Linked DNA regions of Homo sapiens: regions 1, 3, 4, 5 and 6 are each linked to region 2. The links are contacts of gene promoters, found by promoter capture Hi-C in human tissues and cell types (Jung and others, 2019). All regions are on one chromosome and are shown on one strand. The core of a region is centred on a gene start or on the middle of the fragment in contact, and the rest is flanking DNA. Distances in the headings are between cores, read along the strand shown.

Region 1 (2,700 bases), core at 23-2,522, 960 kb after region 2:
GTTAGCCAGGGGCCCACCCATCCCCCCAGCCCAGTTGCTGCTGAGACCCAGGCGGACACTTCCGGCGTTCACAACGGTCAAGGGCTGCTGAGTGCCCCTTTTCCACCCCCTGCCCCTCTGGTGGCTAGGATGACTCTGAAACATCCCTAGAGGTTTGGTTCTGGGGCCAACCTCATGGTTCAACTCTGCTCAAGCCTGGCTTAAAAGGGGCCGGCCATGACCCCAAACCACGCTAGACAGTTGCCGGTGTGCCCGGGTCCAAGAGGGTTCCCTGAGGCCCTGGCAACGACGGGGTCCCAACAGCAGTTAAAGCCTTGGGAGAGAACCCTCACTAGACCAGGGAGAAGCCAGCCACGGCTTTCAGAGGCAGAGTCCAGGAGCGGGGCTGTGAGAGCAGGGGATCATCAGGGCTGTGGGTTAAGGAGCTCAGGTGGAGGGTTTGCGGGCTAGGAAGCCTAAGCAATAGGAAGCTACGTCTGAGGAGAAACAAGAAAAAAAGGGGTGTAGAAGCCTTTGAAGGAAGTTCAGCAAGAGCTGGGAAAGGCATCTTGGAGACTGAGGGGTTAGGCTGAAGGGAGTGACAGGGAGCTTGGAATTATTAATACTTCTGGAGTCTAAGACTCTCCCAAGCCTGTAGGGTGCGGGGGTTTCTCACTATGTGGCTAGAGACTAGGAGCGGCGGGAGGAATCAAATGGGGCAGTGGGTCCTCCCTTCCAGGACGGGGTAATGAGCAAATGTGACTACTTGCGGGCTCCAGGAACGCCATGCAGGGCCAGAGAGTGGAGGATTCGGGGCCTGAAAATAGTAGGGTCCCTCCCTCCCGGGTGTGAGATGCAACCCCGGGGAACCGCTCGCGTGCTCCTTCCCCGGGCCGCTACTCCGTGAAGCAATGTGAGCCTTGGGGGTTGGAGGCTGCTCTCTCCGTCCCGGGGGTTCCCGGCGCAGCTCACTCGCCGTCCCAGGGGTCATGGCCCAGGGATCCGACAGGTGGGCGGCGCCCGCTCCCACCGCTGGACCGCGCCGGGGCCGGGGTCCTCCATCGCTCCAGGGTCTGAGGGGCCGACTGAGGACACCGCCCCTCCCGGGCCGGGGGCGGGGCGTGAGGAGGGGGCGACCCGTACCCCGCCCCCGCCGGGAAGGGGCCCGCCTCGTGCCCCCGGTTCCGGTTCCGGTCCGGCCCGCGCCCCTCCCGGACACTCACTGATTCGCGCCTCCAGAGTCTCCGGCTCCATCGCGGGCTCCATCCGCCACCGGCCCCCAGCCTCGGCACCGCCCCCCCGCCCCCCGCAGCTCTCGCGGGACCTCCTGGGCACCGCCCTCTGCCGATTAAAGGGGCAACGTCCGAACGGGCGCGCTCGGCACCATAGAGAGGCCAACGAGCTCGCCTAGAGCGTCACCTACTCGCCCAACCCCACCCCCACGCGGCGTCTACGTCGCAGCTGGGACCGGCCGCCTGCTTTTCCGTTCCCGGCGCTCAGGCGGGAGAGGAAGTGGAGATACTGCAGGCTAAGGGCAGCACCATGGAAACCCCAAGGGACGCTCTAACTCGTTCTGCGTCACGGAGATGTCTGTGACCGCCTCCGGAAGAATTCTCTGCGGGCATGTTGCTGAGGGGCTCTGAGGCCACTTCCGGAGCCCTGAGCGGGTACTTCCGCTTAGAGTCGAACGTGGGAGAGTCCCTTAAAAGGGCGATAAGCTACATCCTCATGTACCTTGGCCGCTGTGAAAATGACGAAAATAAATCAGTTTCTTGAGTGCTTACAGTATTCTGGGCATTGTCCTAAGCACTATTTGTAATTAATCCATTTAGTTCTGACTCCTTACAACAAACCCACCAGATAATTAGTCGGCCTGAGGCCGCACAAGTAGCAGAGCTTGAACCCTGTGCCGTCTCCTCCATTCATCCAGCCAACGTTTAATGAACTCTTTGTATTTGCTTTGCTCTGTGATGGGCACAGAAGGAGATAGACAAGGCCAGATATTTATTACAGTGTGATAGGGGAAGCCCACGGGGTAGTGGGAACAAAGGAGGGGGCTCCTCCCCCAAACTGGGGTGGGGTGGGTGGGGGTGTTGTCAGGGGAGGGGTCGTGTCAGGGGAGGGGTCGTGTCAGGGGAGGTTTCAAGAGAAAGTGATACTGTACTTCGCTCAAAGACAGTCGGATTTCTCCACGTAGAGCTGGTGCGAAAAGATATTCAGGGAGAAAAAGTAGGATGAAGGCCGAGGAGGGCGGATCACGAGGTCAGGAGATCGAAACCATCCTAACACGGTGAAACCCCGTCTCTACTAAAAAAAAAAAAAAAAAAAAATTATCTGGGCGCGCCTTTAGTGCCAGCTACTTAGAAGGCTGAGGCAGAAGAATCGCTTGAACCCGGGAGGTGAAGGTTGCAGTGAGCCGAGATTGCGTCACTGCACTCCAGCCTGGGCGGCATAGCGAGACTCAGTCTCAAAAAAAAAAAAAAAAAAAAAAGTAGGATGAGTCCAGGGAGTTGGAAGTATTTCAATACGGCTCCCAGATATCTGCAAATAGATATCTATTTGCAGGAGATATCTTGGAATTAGGCTGGGGCAAGATCACCCAGGTCCCATGTTTTGCTGCCCTTTTTTTTTTTTTTCCCTGTAAGCAACGTTGGAGGTGTCGTTACAGTTTTACGGATGGTAGCAAAGTCAGGCTTTTGTTTTAGAAGGGTCCAGCAGTGG
Region 2 (2,700 bases), core at 186-2,685:
TTCATGAATTTGTCATTACCCAGCTCATTTTAGTTTTTTTAAGTGTACTGCACACAACCTTCAAATATTATGAACATTTCTCTCTCCCAGCTGTCACTACACCAAACTACATATGTTATATTTCCCTAAATCATCTTGCTGTGCTCTTTGCAGCTCTTCTGTAGACTGTTGATGTCTTCACCTAACGAGTTGCTCAAAAGTTCCCATAATTATTTAGGTGAGGCCTCAGAGCGAAAGCCTTTCACCACTATCCAGTTCCTCCCCCAAATGGGCATTCATCTCCATATAACAAGGACGACTGTGTTTGGGGGAAAATAACAGATTTGGAAGCACAATGGCAGTTATTTGTTGGCTCTTAAAACAATCCACCTGTTGGGGGGGTGCGTCCTACACAAAATGCCAACTGCTATTGTGGGAATGTTTTGCTATTTATTCCACCAAAATGATTCAGACAGAAAAAACAAAAAGGATCGCCCTGTACTAGGTCTTGAACCCAAAGAACTGTTTGCACAGAGATTCATCCAAGATACATCACAGCCTCCACCTCGGCAGCTGCTCTCTCAAATGTTTCCTGACTCTCCCCAAGTCAGTCTCCGCGTGAGGGGAGGAGGAGGATGCTGCCAGCGATGGCGCTGCTGGCACGAAGGCTGGCCTGCGACTTCTATTTAAAAGCTGAACCAAAATATACTTGGCGTCTGTGGTCTATTTAAAACTTCAAGTTAAGACAGAGAAAAAATTACTCTCCATCCTGAATGGGCCTCGGGTGTCTCAATCACAGACAAGAGTGGCAAATGGTGAGAGTCAGAAAGTGGGAAATTAGGAACGCTGAGGGAGCACGGCCAAACTCTGAAGCCAGCATGAAAACCTGGAGGTGAAAAGAGAAGCCATGGGCAGCGGGGGCGGGGGGAAACGGGCCCGGATTCGACCTTCTAAGCCAAGGCTCCATCTGCAACCCTCGCGACCAAGACCTATCGCCAAAGTCAGCCACCTCTGCTCATCGCCCCTCCCCCGACTCAAGGCTACCTCCTCAGAACCCCGCCTCAGGGTCTTCTCCCGGACTTTAGCGAGGTGCTCAGCTCGAGGGACGCCCCAGCTCAACGGTCTCCCTTCAAGGCCCCGCTCCTCAGCGCGCTCCTTCCACAGCGCCCCTCCCTCCCTCCCTCCGTCATCCCAGCTCGCCACCCGCTGGGGCTCCTCTTCGTTTTCCGCGCCTCAGCCCTCGCCCCGCCCCCTCGCCCTGAGCCCCCTCCAGGCCACGCCCTCTGGTCCCCCCACCTGTGAGCCCGCTCGTTCCCCGCCCTTCGGTCTTCGCCCCGCCCCCATTGCTCCCCGCCCCTCGTCGCCCTCTGTAGGCCTGCTCCCTCCCCGCCCTTCCACCCTCACCCTGCGCCCCGCCCCGGCCCCTTGGTCCTCGCCCCGCCCTCCTCGTTTGGCGCCAAACCCTGTGGTCAACGGCGCGCGGGTCTCCAGGCTCCGTGTTCTAGGCCCGAGTTAGAATCCTGTCAGCTGAGGAGGTCGGGCGGGGCAGAGGGGCTTCACCTTGAAAATCTCGGGGAGACTGTGGGTACGAGGGGGGTAAGTGGCAAAAACGAACAGCGTGCGAAGACTCTGAGGGGACGCTCGTTTTGAGAAGGCGCGCTTCCCTTTCTCGCTCCTTTTTTGGGGTCCCTGGGCTAGTGACTTTGAGCGTTCCGCTCCGACCTTTGGGGAGGAATTTTAGTGATCTTGAGGGATTTCCAACCTCATTTTCAATCGAATCGGACCTGAGTCTAGGAGAGCCCGCCTCATCCTCCTGACCAGGGAATCCGGTGTCAGGAAAATGTCCGGCGGCCGCAGGGGGTCTGCCCAGGCCTCCTGCTGAGGGAGGCGTCGAGGGCGACCCGACCGCGCTGCTGCCCCCACCAGAGGGGACAGCTGGGTCGTCTTAAACCGGGGGATTGGGGAGCCCTACTTTCAATCCAACGGTTCAGTCTATCAACGGCTCCTTGAGAGATGGGGGACAATCTTTTCATTTCATCACGGGGAGAAGAAATGAATGCTGTTTTTCTCTTCGATGGGGACAGTAAATGTGGAATTGGGGTACTCATAGCTAGCCATCTGAAGGACAGTGTCCCCGAAGATCCCATCCGAACGGTCTCGGTTGCCTTCCATCCTTTGCCGTTTGAGGTGCTGGGTGGTAGGACCCTGCTCCTGCCTTAGTATTAATGGTTCGTTCCCTTTGTTCTAGGGTCCAACCCCTGACTTTGGTATCAAATGAGGAAATGGAATCGACCAAGAAAAATGATGATTTGGACCGCATTTTATTGTAATAAATAAACACAATCACGCCTTGTGGATTCCTGAGATTTCTTTTTGAGTCTACAATGTTAAAAACTTTAACTGCTTATCAGCCTTAATATAATATTATGATCCACCAATTTTTTTTTTTTTTTTTGAGACTGAGTCTCGCACTGTCGCCCAGGCTGGAGTGCAGTGGCATGATCTCGGCTCAGTGCAACCTCCGCCTCCCAGGTTCAAGCGATTCTCCTGCCTCAGCCTCCCAAGTAGGTGGGATTACGGGCGCCCACCACCACGCCCGGCTAATTTTTTTGTATTTTTAGTAGAGACGGGGATTGGCCAGGCTGGTCTCGAACTCCTGACCTCGTGATCTGCCTGTCTCGGCCTCCCAAAGTGCTGGGATTACAGGCATGAGCCTCCACA
Region 3 (2,700 bases), core at 10-2,509, 540 kb after region 2:
GGCAACTAGGGAGGACAGCTCTGTGCAAAATCTCAAGATTTTGTCCACTTCCTTTTTTTTTTAATTTTCTTTTTTCTTTCTTTTTTTTTTAAGACAGGGTCTCACTCTGGGGCCCAGGCTGGAGTGCGGTATCATGATCACAACTCACTGCAGCCTCAACCTCCTGGGCTCAAAGATGGCTCACAGATGGCTGCTTTGATGTTTACAAGGAGGTGTTGCGTCACAGGTTGGGAGGTCATGAATTATGTCATGCTCCATGTGGGGGACATGAATTATGTCATGCTCCGTGTGGGGGACATGAATTATGGACGGCAGTAAGGGATTCCAGAGGCAGCTCACCAGTGGCCCACGGAGCCCTTCTCAGCTTGGCCTCCCCACCTCCCACCGTGGCCACCCCTCCTGCCCCTGCAGGCCTTCATAACTGCGCATCCAGGCAGCTTCCTTGCTGAAGCACCCTCTCCGCAGAACTCCTGCTCATTCCTCAAGACCCAGCTCGACTGTCTGTCCTCTGTGACACGTCCTGATTCCAGGCAGCATGAGGGGCGTCCGCCACCCCACGTTGGTTCCTACAGCACACTGTGTCAGTGTGGCATCATCCATCCATGTCCCCAATCAGGGTGTGGACAGGGCCTATGCCTCAAGCATCCTGGTTTCCCTGCCCCATGCCCAGTGTTGGGCCTAAGGAATAGCAGAGCTCAGTGGACTATGTGCCTGACTGTGGGCAGAGACCCCGGTCTCTCCTGGGCACACTCAGCCTCGAGGCAGCAGCTCGGCTCCTGACTGATGGATTCAGGGGCAGGTGATGGGTGTGAAGCAGTTTCCCCTGTCAGATACCCGCTGTGCATTTTTGGGAGGACCGTAACAGTGGAACTCCAGAGCTCTCCTGGGAAGATGGCTGTGGTGGAAGGTGAGAGGACACTGGCCAGTTAGAAAATGGATAAAAGCAGGCCAGGTGTGGTGCAGTGGTTCACATCTGTAACCCTGGCACTTTGGGAGGCCAAGGTGAGAGAATTGCTTGAGATCAGGAGTTCAAGACCAGCCTGGGCAACAGAGTGAGACCCTGTCTCTACAAAAAAATTAAAAATTAGCTGGGTGTGGTGGCTTGTGCCTAGGCTTCCAGCTATTTGGAAGGCTGAAGTGGGAGGATCACTTAAGCCCAGGAGGTTGAGGCTGCAGTGAGCCAAGATCGCGCCATTGTACTCCAACCTGGGCCACGGAGCAAGACCCTGTCTCAAAAAAAAAGTAAAAGAAAAAAAAGAAACTGGACAAAATCTCCAGACTTCAGACCAAAACAGAGGCCAAGACAGAGGGGACTAGAATGCTGGGGAGGGGACTACGGATGTGTTTGGAAGGAAAAATTGTCATGGCCGATGACTAGCCATAGGGGATGAAGGGGATGGATGAGTCAAAAATGACTCCGAAGCTTCATGCCTGGGTCACTGGAGAACAGTGGGGCCGTTGATGGGGCAGGGAAGCGGGGAGGGGTTGGTCTGGGGGCAGCATGGTGACGCGGGTTTGAGACATGGACTCACAGCACTTTCAGGCTGGAAGCAACCTTCGGAGGTCACCAGGGTCACACGTGAGGAAGTGGAAGCTGAGTGAGGAGCTGCCACTCAGCCGGGACACCTGTGACATCAGGCGCCTGGGACAGGGTGTTGGTGCTGGTGGGGACCTGGACAGCGGCACAGGGTGTGAAGTCCGTGCCTGCCCAGGTCCTGCACTGGGCTCTGGGGACCTGGTGGTGAATCAGACCCAGTCCCCACACTTAGGGGCTCACTGTTCCATGGAGGAGACAGACATGACTGTAATTACTACCTGGGCTAAGAGGGTGGTGTGGTGAGGACTCAGAGGGCCAAGTCTACCTTGTGGGGGGACGTGGGTAGGAGAAGTAGCCAAGGAACGAGGGCATCCTTGTTGTCAGAAGTAGGCTCCTCCGTGCCAAGAACATCTCATTTAATCCTTGCAACCATCCTGCAGGCTCTGTGGTATTACTGTCCGCATTTTACAGATGAGTTTGAAAAAGATGAAGCAGATTGTCCAGGGCCCTGCAGATGGAATGACACCCAAACTCTCGCTCTTAACCCCTGCGTCTTGGAAGAGGTGTGCTGGAGCTGAGGCCTGACAGAGTAGTAGGAGTTTCCCAAGGGACAAGGAGGGAGGGGGCGACACCGACACTTGCCAAGACCCGTCTTTCCATTGGCAGGGTCTGAAGTGCTGGTGGTCTGTAGCCTGCTTCCTTACCTCTTGCCCAGGGCCTCTCACAGCTCTTCCAGCCCTCGTCCTGTCCCAGGGCCCCTCATTTCACAGACCCTGCCTTTCCCACCCCCTACTGGTGACAGCCGACTGATCTGATGGATTTGTCCAGCAACTGAGCTGGGGGTGGGGTGGGAGAGGGCCTGTTCCTGATCCCCGGGGAACCACTGACCACGCTCCCCAGGCCTTCCCAGCACAACCCTGCCCCCACCCACACCTCCCCACTGCATGACCTCTTCTTATCCCGGGAGTGACCCTGCAAAGCAAGTCATCCCAGAGAAGTGAGGATGTGCCTGAATCACCCAGTGCATAAGCAGCTGAGCTAAGTCTCAGACCCACAGGCCTGGGGTCTCAGACCATGGCGGTCCCCTGGGCTTGGACAAACCACAGAGTACTTTTCTATCCTCGGGCTCCGGTTTGCAGGGCACCATGGGAATGATCGGGGAG
Region 4 (2,700 bases), core at 52-2,551, 620 kb after region 2:
TCCCCCACCTCCCCGGCTTCTCTTTTCCCCCAAGCACTCAATGTCCAAATGCCCTAATGCTCAGCCACGGGTCATCTCCTCTTCTCTACTGACACTCACTGGGAATGGGGTAGCAATCCCACACGTTTCTTATTTTTATCTTCAGACTAGCTCTCTTTGCACCCACATATCCCACAGGTAATTTTTGGGCTCTATCTTTAAAATAGTAATATATCCAGAATTCAAAACCAGTTCTCACCACCTCTACTCCTACCACCCTACTATAAGCTACTGACTTCTCTCATCTAGATTACTACAAGCAGGCCGGGCACGGTGGCTCACGCCTGTGATCCCAGCACTTTGGGAGGCCGAGGCGGGTGGATCACAAGCTCAGGAGTTCGAGGCCAGTCTGGCCAACATGGTGAAACCCGTCTCTACTAAAACTACAAGCAATTAGCAAGGCGTGGTGGTGCACGCCCATAATCCCAGCTAGTCGGGAGGCTGAGGCAGGAGAATCCCTTGAACCCCGGAGGTGGAGGCTGCAGTGAGCCGAGATCGCGCCACTGCACTCCAGCCTGGGCGACAGAGCAAGACTCTGTTTCAAAAAAAAAAAAAAATTACTGCAAAGGACCGTCCCAGACTTTTATTTAATGCCACCCGGTGGAGCTGCCCCAGACCCTCCTCTGGAGTACTCCTATACTACATACGTCTAGAACTGGGGAAGCTCACGCGACCACCGTTACCTGCTTGCTTGCTTACTTATGGGCCTGTGACCCCTTTTCTAGAAAGTGAGCACGTGGAGAGGCAGGGACGATTGTTCATTCACCTCAATATTCCCACTGCATGATACAGAGCCCGGCTCGCTGGAACATTTGCTGAAGGACACCTTTTCTACGGATCCCCTCTGGACCCTCGAGCCTGGGCCCTCCTGTGCCTCCAGCCGGGGCTGTGCTCCTGGGTCGCCCGCCCTTCCCTTCCTCGGCTCCGCCGGCCCCCTCAGGACCCCAGTCCCCTCAGACATTGCCCCTAGACGCCAGGCTCCTCAGCCGACCCAAGCCTTGCCTCATCCGCCCCTTCCAAGGTTGCCGCAAAGGCCACTCCGCTCCCGCACTCACTTGTCCTCGTTGTCTGACATGACACCCTCGCCTCAGCGACCCCGCTGCGCCCCGGTCCCGCGCGGAGACCCGCAAACAGCGACACTACGACTCGCGCGGCTCCTAGCTTATCTTGCGCCTGCGCCGTAACCCAGAGGAAATCACTTCCGGGAGGCAGGACAGAGCGGGGAAAGTGCGCATGCGCTGACTGGTGTGTGCGCGTTTCTATAGTAGCGAGAGGCGCTAGCTGCCAGCTCCAGCAGCCCAGATCGCGCAGTATTTCTGCGTGGCACCGGTGCGGATGCGGCTGTAAAGCAGTGGTCACCGCCTCCGGGAGCCCACTTCTATGTGGAGAGGGGAGCACCCAGAGAGGGTCTTAGGGTGAAATTTCAATTTTGGCATATCACTCAGTGGGTACTGTTGTGACCATGGCTGTGTTAACACTCCCTCCCGAGGAGACTTCCCTGCCACAGGCGCTGGGTCAGAATGAGGACTGTGTGTGTGTATCTGTGTGTCTGGATGGGAGGTTTGGGCACTGTCGCAATATTAACTGGCGGCATCATTCTCTGGCTCGATCCCCGCTTCCAGACTTCTGGGGGTGTTGGGCGTCGGGGAACAGAGATTAGGGACAGGAGACAGGGGGTGTGTCATTGCGTCTTTCCCTCCTCAGAGTCCTCCCATGGCTTCACAGAAGCAGATGGAGGTAGTGACCAAAGGAACTGGGTTCCGGCGCCGCCCCAAGACCATCACTTACACCCCGGGGACCTGCGAGCTGCTCAGAGGTCAGTCCGTTAAAGCAGCGATCCCAGCCTTTTTGGCACCAGGGACCGGTTTCGTGGAAGACAATTTTTCCACTGACGGAGGTGTGGGGAATGGTTTCGGGATGAAACTGTTCCACCTCAGATCATCAGGTATTAGTTAGATTCTCATAAGGAGCGTGCAACCTAGATCCCTCGCGTGCGCAGTTCACAATAGGGTTCGCGCTCCTATGAGAATCTAAGGCCGTCACTGACCTGAAAGGAGGCGGTGAGGCTCGCTAGCCTGCCGCTCACCTCCTGCTGTGCGGCCCGGTTCCTAACAGGCCAGGGACTGGTACCAGTCCACGGACGGAGGGTTGGGGACCCCTGAGTTAAAGGATGAGAGAAGAATGGTGGTAGTTACCCTCTGTAACTCAGTTCCCCCGTACCTGACCTGTGGCTTAGCACTATTTTCCTTTACAGATAAGGAGCCTGGGGTTCAGAAAGCTTCAAAATTCTACTGCATATGCCTTATTCGGGGGCGGGGCGGGGCGGGGGGGAGGGGAAGGTTCAAGGTGCTACACCTTGCCAAAAGTCAAAGAACTAAAATTTTTAGAGTAGTTAACTCCTATGCATCCTTTAGATCACACTTTCAACTTTCCCGAGGAAGACTTCTGCTCCTCACCACCACAGTAGGATCAACTGTTATGTGCCCTCACACATTTTCCTTCACTGGGCTTAGCACAAGCTGTAGTCAGTTATTTGGTGTCCCATCTATCCCTCCAGATCATGAATTTCATCAGGCAGGAACCGTGCCTGTTTCGGCCCACAATTGTAGCTCCAGCCCCTGAAACATGATGAACAAGTATTCATGTGTTCTTTTACTCAAC
Region 5 (2,700 bases), core at 100-2,599, 590 kb after region 2:
AGGCCCCAGACACACTGGCCCGATTGTCTGGCTGGTTGTGTGTGTGAGCATGTGTGTGTGTGTGTGTGTGTGTGTGTGTGTGTGTTCCAGTGTCTGCTCCCCCCACCCCCAACATGCCTCTGCCTCGTGTGACTACCTCATTGTGTCCCATTTCCCACCCCCTACACCCCTTTGGACTTTCCCAAGCATGAGGCCTTGCCTCCCCAGACCCTTTGCAGCCCACTCCAGACAGGACCCCTTGGGGTGGTCTTGGGGCTTTGCCCTGCTGTTGAGGAGCTCAGAACGTCACATGGTTGCCAATGCGACCCCAGCTCCATTACATAACCCACATACACCCCACCTCGGCCTCAACACCCCGGCGGGGCTGCCCTCAGTTAAGAGAACAGCACTGCGACCTTTGGAGGAGAGGCCAAGGAAAGAGAGAGAAAAAGGTGTCAACGGAGGATGGGCAGGAAAGAAAAGGGGAGGGAGGGAGAGGTGGGCAGAGGAGGGAAGAGGCAGGGCAAGTCCCCACCCCTTGTTGGGGTGGGGGAGTAGAGGACTTCGTGACAATCAGGACTAGGACTCCCCTACCCTCTCCCAAGACAGGGTGAGCCCAGTGTGGAAGGAGCTGGGTCCCAGTAGGTAGCAACCCAAAATGCCTCTAAGACCTACTGAGAGAGGGCCCCCAACCTGTCCCACCTTGGCCTCCTGGCAGCTTTAGTCTTGTGTTTCCACCTTGAACCAGACCAGAACGCGCGTGTGCTGGGTGTCTGCAGAGAAGGGACCAGGGGTCAAGCTGGGGCTCTGCACTTCTCAGAGGGATCCCTGAGAAGTCTCTCTTACTGTGCAGGATGGGGCAGAAAGGGCTGCCTGGGAAAAGGTAGGAGGCAGGGTGAGGAGCTGGGCATCAGTGCCTGGCACACACTAGGCACTCAACAGGATTTCGCAGACGAAGCAGCTAGGGCCAGCCACCCTCACGGGCCCCCAGGACCCTCACCGCCTTCACGTCTCTCCCTAGTCCCCTGCCAAGTGCCCATCCTGCCACCTGAGGCAGACGTTAGGAGTCCTGGTTGGGCCCAATTTTCTTCCATCCAACAGGTTCTGACCCTCCAGCCTACATCTCTTCCTTCCTCGGCCTAACCTCCCCTCCACCTCCCAGACTAAGCCCAAGATAAGCCTCAGCAAGATGGGCCTGGGCAGTAGGGCAGGGAGCTGGGTGGGGGGGCCTGGGCTCCGGGTGGAGGAGCCCTGAGTGTTGGGGATGAAGGAAAGCCTGGAGGCTCCACCTTCTGCCCTTCCCTCCCTCCTCTCCCCTCCCCCCTCTCCCCCTCCTTCCTTCCCCAGCCCTCCGCAGCGGCTCAGGCTCAGTCGCTCAGTCAGTCTCGGGCTGTCCGGCCAGGGTGGTTGGTGGTAAGGATTCAGGCTCCGTCCTAACGAGGCCGTGGCCTGAGGCTCAGGGCCCCCCGCCCCTCCCTCCCAGCCCACCAGCGTCACCTCCCAGCCCCGAGCTGGACCGCACACCTTGGGACACGGTTTTCCACTTCCTAAGGACGAGCCCCAGACTGGAGGAGAGGTCCGAGGAGGTGAGTGCGCAGCCTGCTCCTCCCTGGCCCGCCCAGGCCTGGGACCCTGCTGTGAGGTGGAGAGAGGCGACACCCCGCCCTTGCCCCCCACCTGGCTCTCCTCTAAACCCCGTTGGGGCAGGCTGAGGGAAGAAGGAAAGGTGAGAGAAAAGGTGGGAAATTCCAGGGGCCGGGATTAGAGCAAAATAAAGGCTCCGTTTTTTTCTTCCTTATCATCAACAAACCTCCACCCAAAAAAGGAGGCTAAAAAAAAAGCCACCCACACCAAGAGACGGTTGGGACCAGGTGGTGGGAAGACACAGAGGCGGGACGCACCCACCTAGAGTCTGGCATGTGCGTGGGCCCCAGGGGCCAGATGGGTTTAGCTGGAGCAGGAAGGGCCGCCACCTCGGGGCTGTGCCCACGTCCTGTCTCGGGCCGCCCTCGGGGCTGCGCGCGCGGCCGCTCCATCGCGCCCTCCTTCCATCCAGGTGGGCGTTGGACTCTTTGCGAGGACCCCGGCGGCTGGCCCGGGGGAGGCGGCCGAGGCGGCGGCGGCGGCGGCCGGGGGCGACATGGCGGAGGAGCAGGACCTATCGGAGGTGGAGCTGAGCCCCGTGGGCTCGGAGGAGCCCCGCTGCCTGTCCCCGGGGAGCGCGCCCTCGCTAGGGCCCGACGGCGGCGGCGGCGGATCGGGCCTGCGAGCCAGCCCGGGGCCAGGCGAGCTGGGCAAGGTCAAGAAGGAGCAGCAGGACGGCGAGGCGGACGATGACAAGTTCCCCGTGTGCATCCGCGAGGCCGTCAGCCAGGTGCTCAGCGGCTACGACTGGACGCTGGTGCCCATGCCCGTGCGCGTCAACGGCGCCAGCAAAAGCAAGCCGCACGTCAAGCGGCCCATGAACGCCTTCATGGTGTGGGCTCAGGCAGCGCGCAGGAAGCTCGCGGACCAGTACCCGCACCTGCACAACGCTGAGCTCAGCAAGACGCTGGGCAAGCTCTGGAGGTGAGCACCCGACCGCCCCCCGGGCTCGGGCCCTCTAGCTTCGGGTGGATTCAGGGTAGCCGAGGCGGCCCGGCCTCCTGCACCTCAGAGCGGGACTGTCTGGCAGTCCTCCTTGGATAGGGCTGGAAGACCAGGTGTGGGGGCCGCGCCCGC
Region 6 (2,700 bases), core at 82-2,581, 660 kb after region 2:
GAGGTGGAACAGGCACAGAAAGCCTCCATCTGCCAGGCTGGGGGAGCCCTGGCAAGAGGGCTGCATGCGAAAGGGGTAGGGACCAGAACTCTCCTCCCTGATTCACAGGTGAGACCTGAAGTGCAAGGAATGGCACCAGATAAACTCACCCAGTGTTTTAGGAATGAAGGGACGAAAGGAGGAGAGGTTCCAGGGCTCAAGGCAGAGAGAGCAAAGACAGAGGCTCCAAGTCAACTGTTCCGGGGAGTCTGAATGCATTTTCCCATGAGAACCTCATTGGGCAGCTCTGGGCAGGAAGGGGCCATTTCACAACCTGCAGCACCCGGTTGGTGTCTATCAATCGGATCCTAGGAGTCTTCCCAACATTGCCGGCCTGTGACTCCTCTTGCGCGCCCCACCTGCGTGCCCCACTGAGGAGGGCTGCAGGGCCATCGAGCACACACCCGGGAGGCAGGGCTGCGTCCTAAGTTGGGGGGCGTGGGGAAAGCACAGGGTCTGTACATCCATTCATCCAACACCTGTTAGCCGAGGTCTCCTCTGTGCCGGGAACTGTGCTACTGTCCGGAGACAAGCTCCTATTTGGGGGTCAGAGAAGTGGGGGTTCACCTGCACACCCGGAGCAAGGGGCCACCCCGAGTGGGAAGCCTCGGGGGAGAGGGGAGGCCCGGCGAGCCCGTGGAGAAGAGTTTAGGGTAGGAGAGGCCCAGGGCCCCCAAAGAGGGCTCAACACCCCTTCAAAGAGGTCAAGGGCTTAGGGGTTCAGCGATCCTCGGCGGAAATCAGCGCTTTGTGGGCGGGGCCAGTGTCCCCGCGGAGGGACCAGCCTCGGGGGAGAGTTCGGGATCCCACGGGCGGGGTCAGGGCGGCCGGGCGGGGGAGGGGCGCCCTGGGCCGGGGTCTCAGGGACCCGCCCGGCGTCCGGGGCCGTCGGGGGGGTCGGCGTCTCCGTGTCCGGGGGCGGCGCCTGTCACCGCCCGGGCTTCGTGTTACTGAGGGGGGGCGGCGGTCGCGGCCCCAGCCCGCCCCGCGCCGCCCGCTCGCCCGGGGCCCCGCACTCACAGCAGGTCGGGCCGGTGCCGGTGCAGGATGGCGCAGAAGGCCAGGCCGTCCCGGAAGGAGCTGCTCAGGTCGCGGATCTCCACGCCGCGGTAGCCCTCGCACTGGCGGCGGCACCAGGCCAGCAGCGCGCCCCGCGGCCCAGCCATGACCCCGCGGCCCGCCCGGCTCCGGCTCTGGCTTCGGGGCCCCGGCTTGGCCGGGACGGCGGCCGCCGCGCGGGCCCGGTTTCCGGCTGCGGCTGCGGCTCCGAGCTCGGGCGCCGACCGGCAGGCGAGGGGAGGGGCGGAGGCGGGGCCGCGGTGTCCTCGCTCGGGCGCCCCGCGGCCCTGCCCTAACCTGCCCGAGCAGCGCCGCCGCGTGGCCCGGCCCGGCCGGCCGCCGCCTACTCCGCGCTGCCCGCTCGCCTCATTGTGGGCCGGTCGTGGGAGCGGGCGTCCCGCCGCCTCCGTCCGCGCCGGAGGCGCGCCCCACCCAGCAGCAGCTCCGCCTCCAGTGCGGAGCCCACCCCTACCAAGACGGGCCGGCGCCCCATCGCCCGCCCCTCGACGGCGCCGGGCTCCCGCTGCTCCACTGGGTGCCCGCGAAGCCCCCGCACCCGCCGCAAGCGGACCACTCCCCACGATGACTTCACCGCCGCGGCCGCCGCCGCGCCACCCACCGGGAGCCCTCCACCCTTTGGAGGCGGGACACCTCGTGCTCCCATCCGGCCTCCTTCCCGCTCCTAATGACCGCAAATCCCCCCTTCCACCCCTAGCTTGAAACTTTGGGGAGGCAGTTCCCCTGCAGACCTCAGAGCACCCCCCCCCGGATAGCCACCAGCTTCCCTCATCCCGGCTCCCCACCCTAAAGCACCGCTGAGCTGGAAGTTGTCATGTCCACCATCCCCTCCCCCATAGCTTGGCAGGGAGACCCATGCGCCCCTCCGCCACCTTTGGTCCAGGTGTCCCCTAGGTGATTCACTGAGCTCCCCTCAGCCCCTGTGTAAGCTCAGGGATCTCGTCCCTCCCCACTGCGGCCTGCCGGGTCCCCTCAGCCATGGTTAGTGTGGTGGTGGTTTGAGTTCCTATGGGAAGGACCTAGGCCAAGGAGGCCCCTGCCTGGGAGGCATACAGGCAGTTTGTATCTGGCCCTGGAACCTCCCCAAGGCTCATTCTCTATCTTTGCCGTCTTCAAAACCCCCGCCAGCCAACCGACCCTTCCAGCCAGCCAACCCTTCCAGCCAGCCGACCCTTCCGCAGAGGCCCCTCCTGACTCTCCCACAGATGAATCAGCCTCCATCTGCTGCAGAGGTGGTGATGTCACCCTGACCCATGCAATAGTTAGCTGGAGTGGGTATTTCGCTCCCTCCCAAGGGAAGGAACAGGGTCTTAGTCATCTTCATCACCCCTGAGCACTCAGGGGAGTGGAAAGATCAGGCATTTTGGAGCCCTATTAACCCAATCTCCAATCCTGGCTTTCCCCACTCCCTTAGTCATGTGATCTTGTGCCTCCCTGGACCTCAGTTTCCACGACTTAAAAATGGAGATAATACCTGCTTTACAAGGTGGCTGAGAGGATTAAGATGTAAAGTGCCTTACCCTTTAGTTATCACTCATAAATTCTATTGACTCCTGGTACTTGGTAAACATGATGAAATGGACT

What was found. Contacts are between HindIII fragments. The study calls those that stand out against the background at their distance.
Region 1: the fragment with the promoter of GGA1 here is called in contact with the fragment with the promoter of DMC1 in region 2 in 1 of the 25 tissues and cell types used here (lymphoblastoid cells).
Region 3: a fragment that was not itself captured here is called in contact with the fragment with the promoter of DMC1 in region 2 in 2 of the 25 tissues and cell types used here (IMR-90 fibroblasts and dorsolateral prefrontal cortex).
Region 4: a contact is called between the fragment with the promoter of C22orf23 here and the fragment with the promoter of DMC1 in region 2, in 2 of the 25 tissues and cell types used here (dorsolateral prefrontal cortex and lymphoblastoid cells).
Region 5: the fragment with the promoter of SOX10 here is called in contact with the fragment with the promoter of DMC1 in region 2 in 7 of the 25 tissues and cell types used here (IMR-90 fibroblasts, dorsolateral prefrontal cortex, lymphoblastoid cells and 4 more).
Region 6: the fragment with the promoter of MICALL1 here is called in contact with the fragment with the promoter of DMC1 in region 2 in 2 of the 25 tissues and cell types used here (dorsolateral prefrontal cortex and stomach).

What each region holds. Positions count from the first base shown.
Region 1 is chr22:37,607,406-37,610,105 of GRCh38, reverse strand. GGA1 (golgi associated, gamma adaptin ear containing, ARF binding protein 1) reads right to left here and starts at 1,272. Exons shown (of 17, transcript NM_013365.5): 1 at 1,203-1,272. The coding sequence starts at 1,245. RefSeq lists enhancers at 443-552, 267-888, 1,493-1,662, 1,813-1,892, a silencer at 883-1,332 and a cis regulatory region at 2,637-2,700. The HindIII fragment of the contact is 29,756 bases long and covers 1-2,700 here.
Region 2 is chr22:38,568,918-38,571,617 of GRCh38, reverse strand. DMC1 (DNA meiotic recombinase 1) reads left to right here and starts at 1,435. Exons shown (of 14, transcript NM_007068.4): 1 at 1,435-1,575. LOC105373031 (a long non-coding RNA gene) reads right to left here and starts at 1,118. Exons shown (of 2, transcript NR_134627.1): 1 at 1,024-1,118; 2 at 260-865. RefSeq lists enhancers at 700-749, 336-846 and a silencer at 1,150-1,439. The HindIII fragment of the contact is 22,042 bases long and covers 1-2,700 here.
Region 3 is chr22:38,030,549-38,033,248 of GRCh38, reverse strand. POLR2F-AS1 (POLR2F antisense RNA 1) reads left to right here. Exons shown (of 2, transcript NR_199596.1): 2 at 94-1,077. It also overlaps a transcript of POLR2F not described here. Among named protein-coding and RNA genes, the nearest start is that of POLR2F-AS1, 2.3 kb to the left of the region's middle. RefSeq lists enhancers at 1-16, 1,028-2,227. The HindIII fragment of the contact is 4,209 bases long and covers 1-2,700 here.
Region 4 is chr22:37,952,202-37,954,901 of GRCh38, reverse strand. C22orf23 (chromosome 22 open reading frame 23) reads left to right here and starts at 1,301. Exons shown (of 7, transcript NM_032561.5): 1 at 1,301-1,454; 2 at 1,744-1,855. The coding sequence starts at 1,753. It overlaps POLR2F (RNA polymerase II, I and III subunit F), which reads right to left and starts at 1,203. Exons shown (of 5, transcript NM_021974.5): 1 at 1,095-1,203. The coding sequence starts at 1,114. RefSeq lists a silencer at 968-1,037. The HindIII fragment of the contact is 12,825 bases long and covers 1-2,700 here.
Region 5 is chr22:37,983,204-37,985,903 of GRCh38, reverse strand. SOX10 (SRY-box transcription factor 10) reads left to right here and starts at 1,349. Exons shown (of 4, transcript NM_006941.4): 1 at 1,349-1,565; 2 at 2,036-2,547. The coding sequence starts at 2,120. It also overlaps a transcript of POLR2F not described here. RefSeq lists enhancers at 1-288, 2,243-2,700. The HindIII fragment of the contact is 28,697 bases long and covers 1-2,700 here.
Region 6 is chr22:37,904,928-37,907,627 of GRCh38, reverse strand. It overlaps MICALL1 (MICAL like 1), which reads right to left and starts at 1,331. Exons shown (of 16, transcript NM_033386.4): 1 at 1,060-1,331. The coding sequence starts at 1,205. RefSeq lists enhancers at 1-192, 193-1,008, 1,009-1,824, 1,825-2,640 and silencers at 779-888, 999-1,718. The HindIII fragment of the contact is 31,369 bases long and covers 1-2,700 here.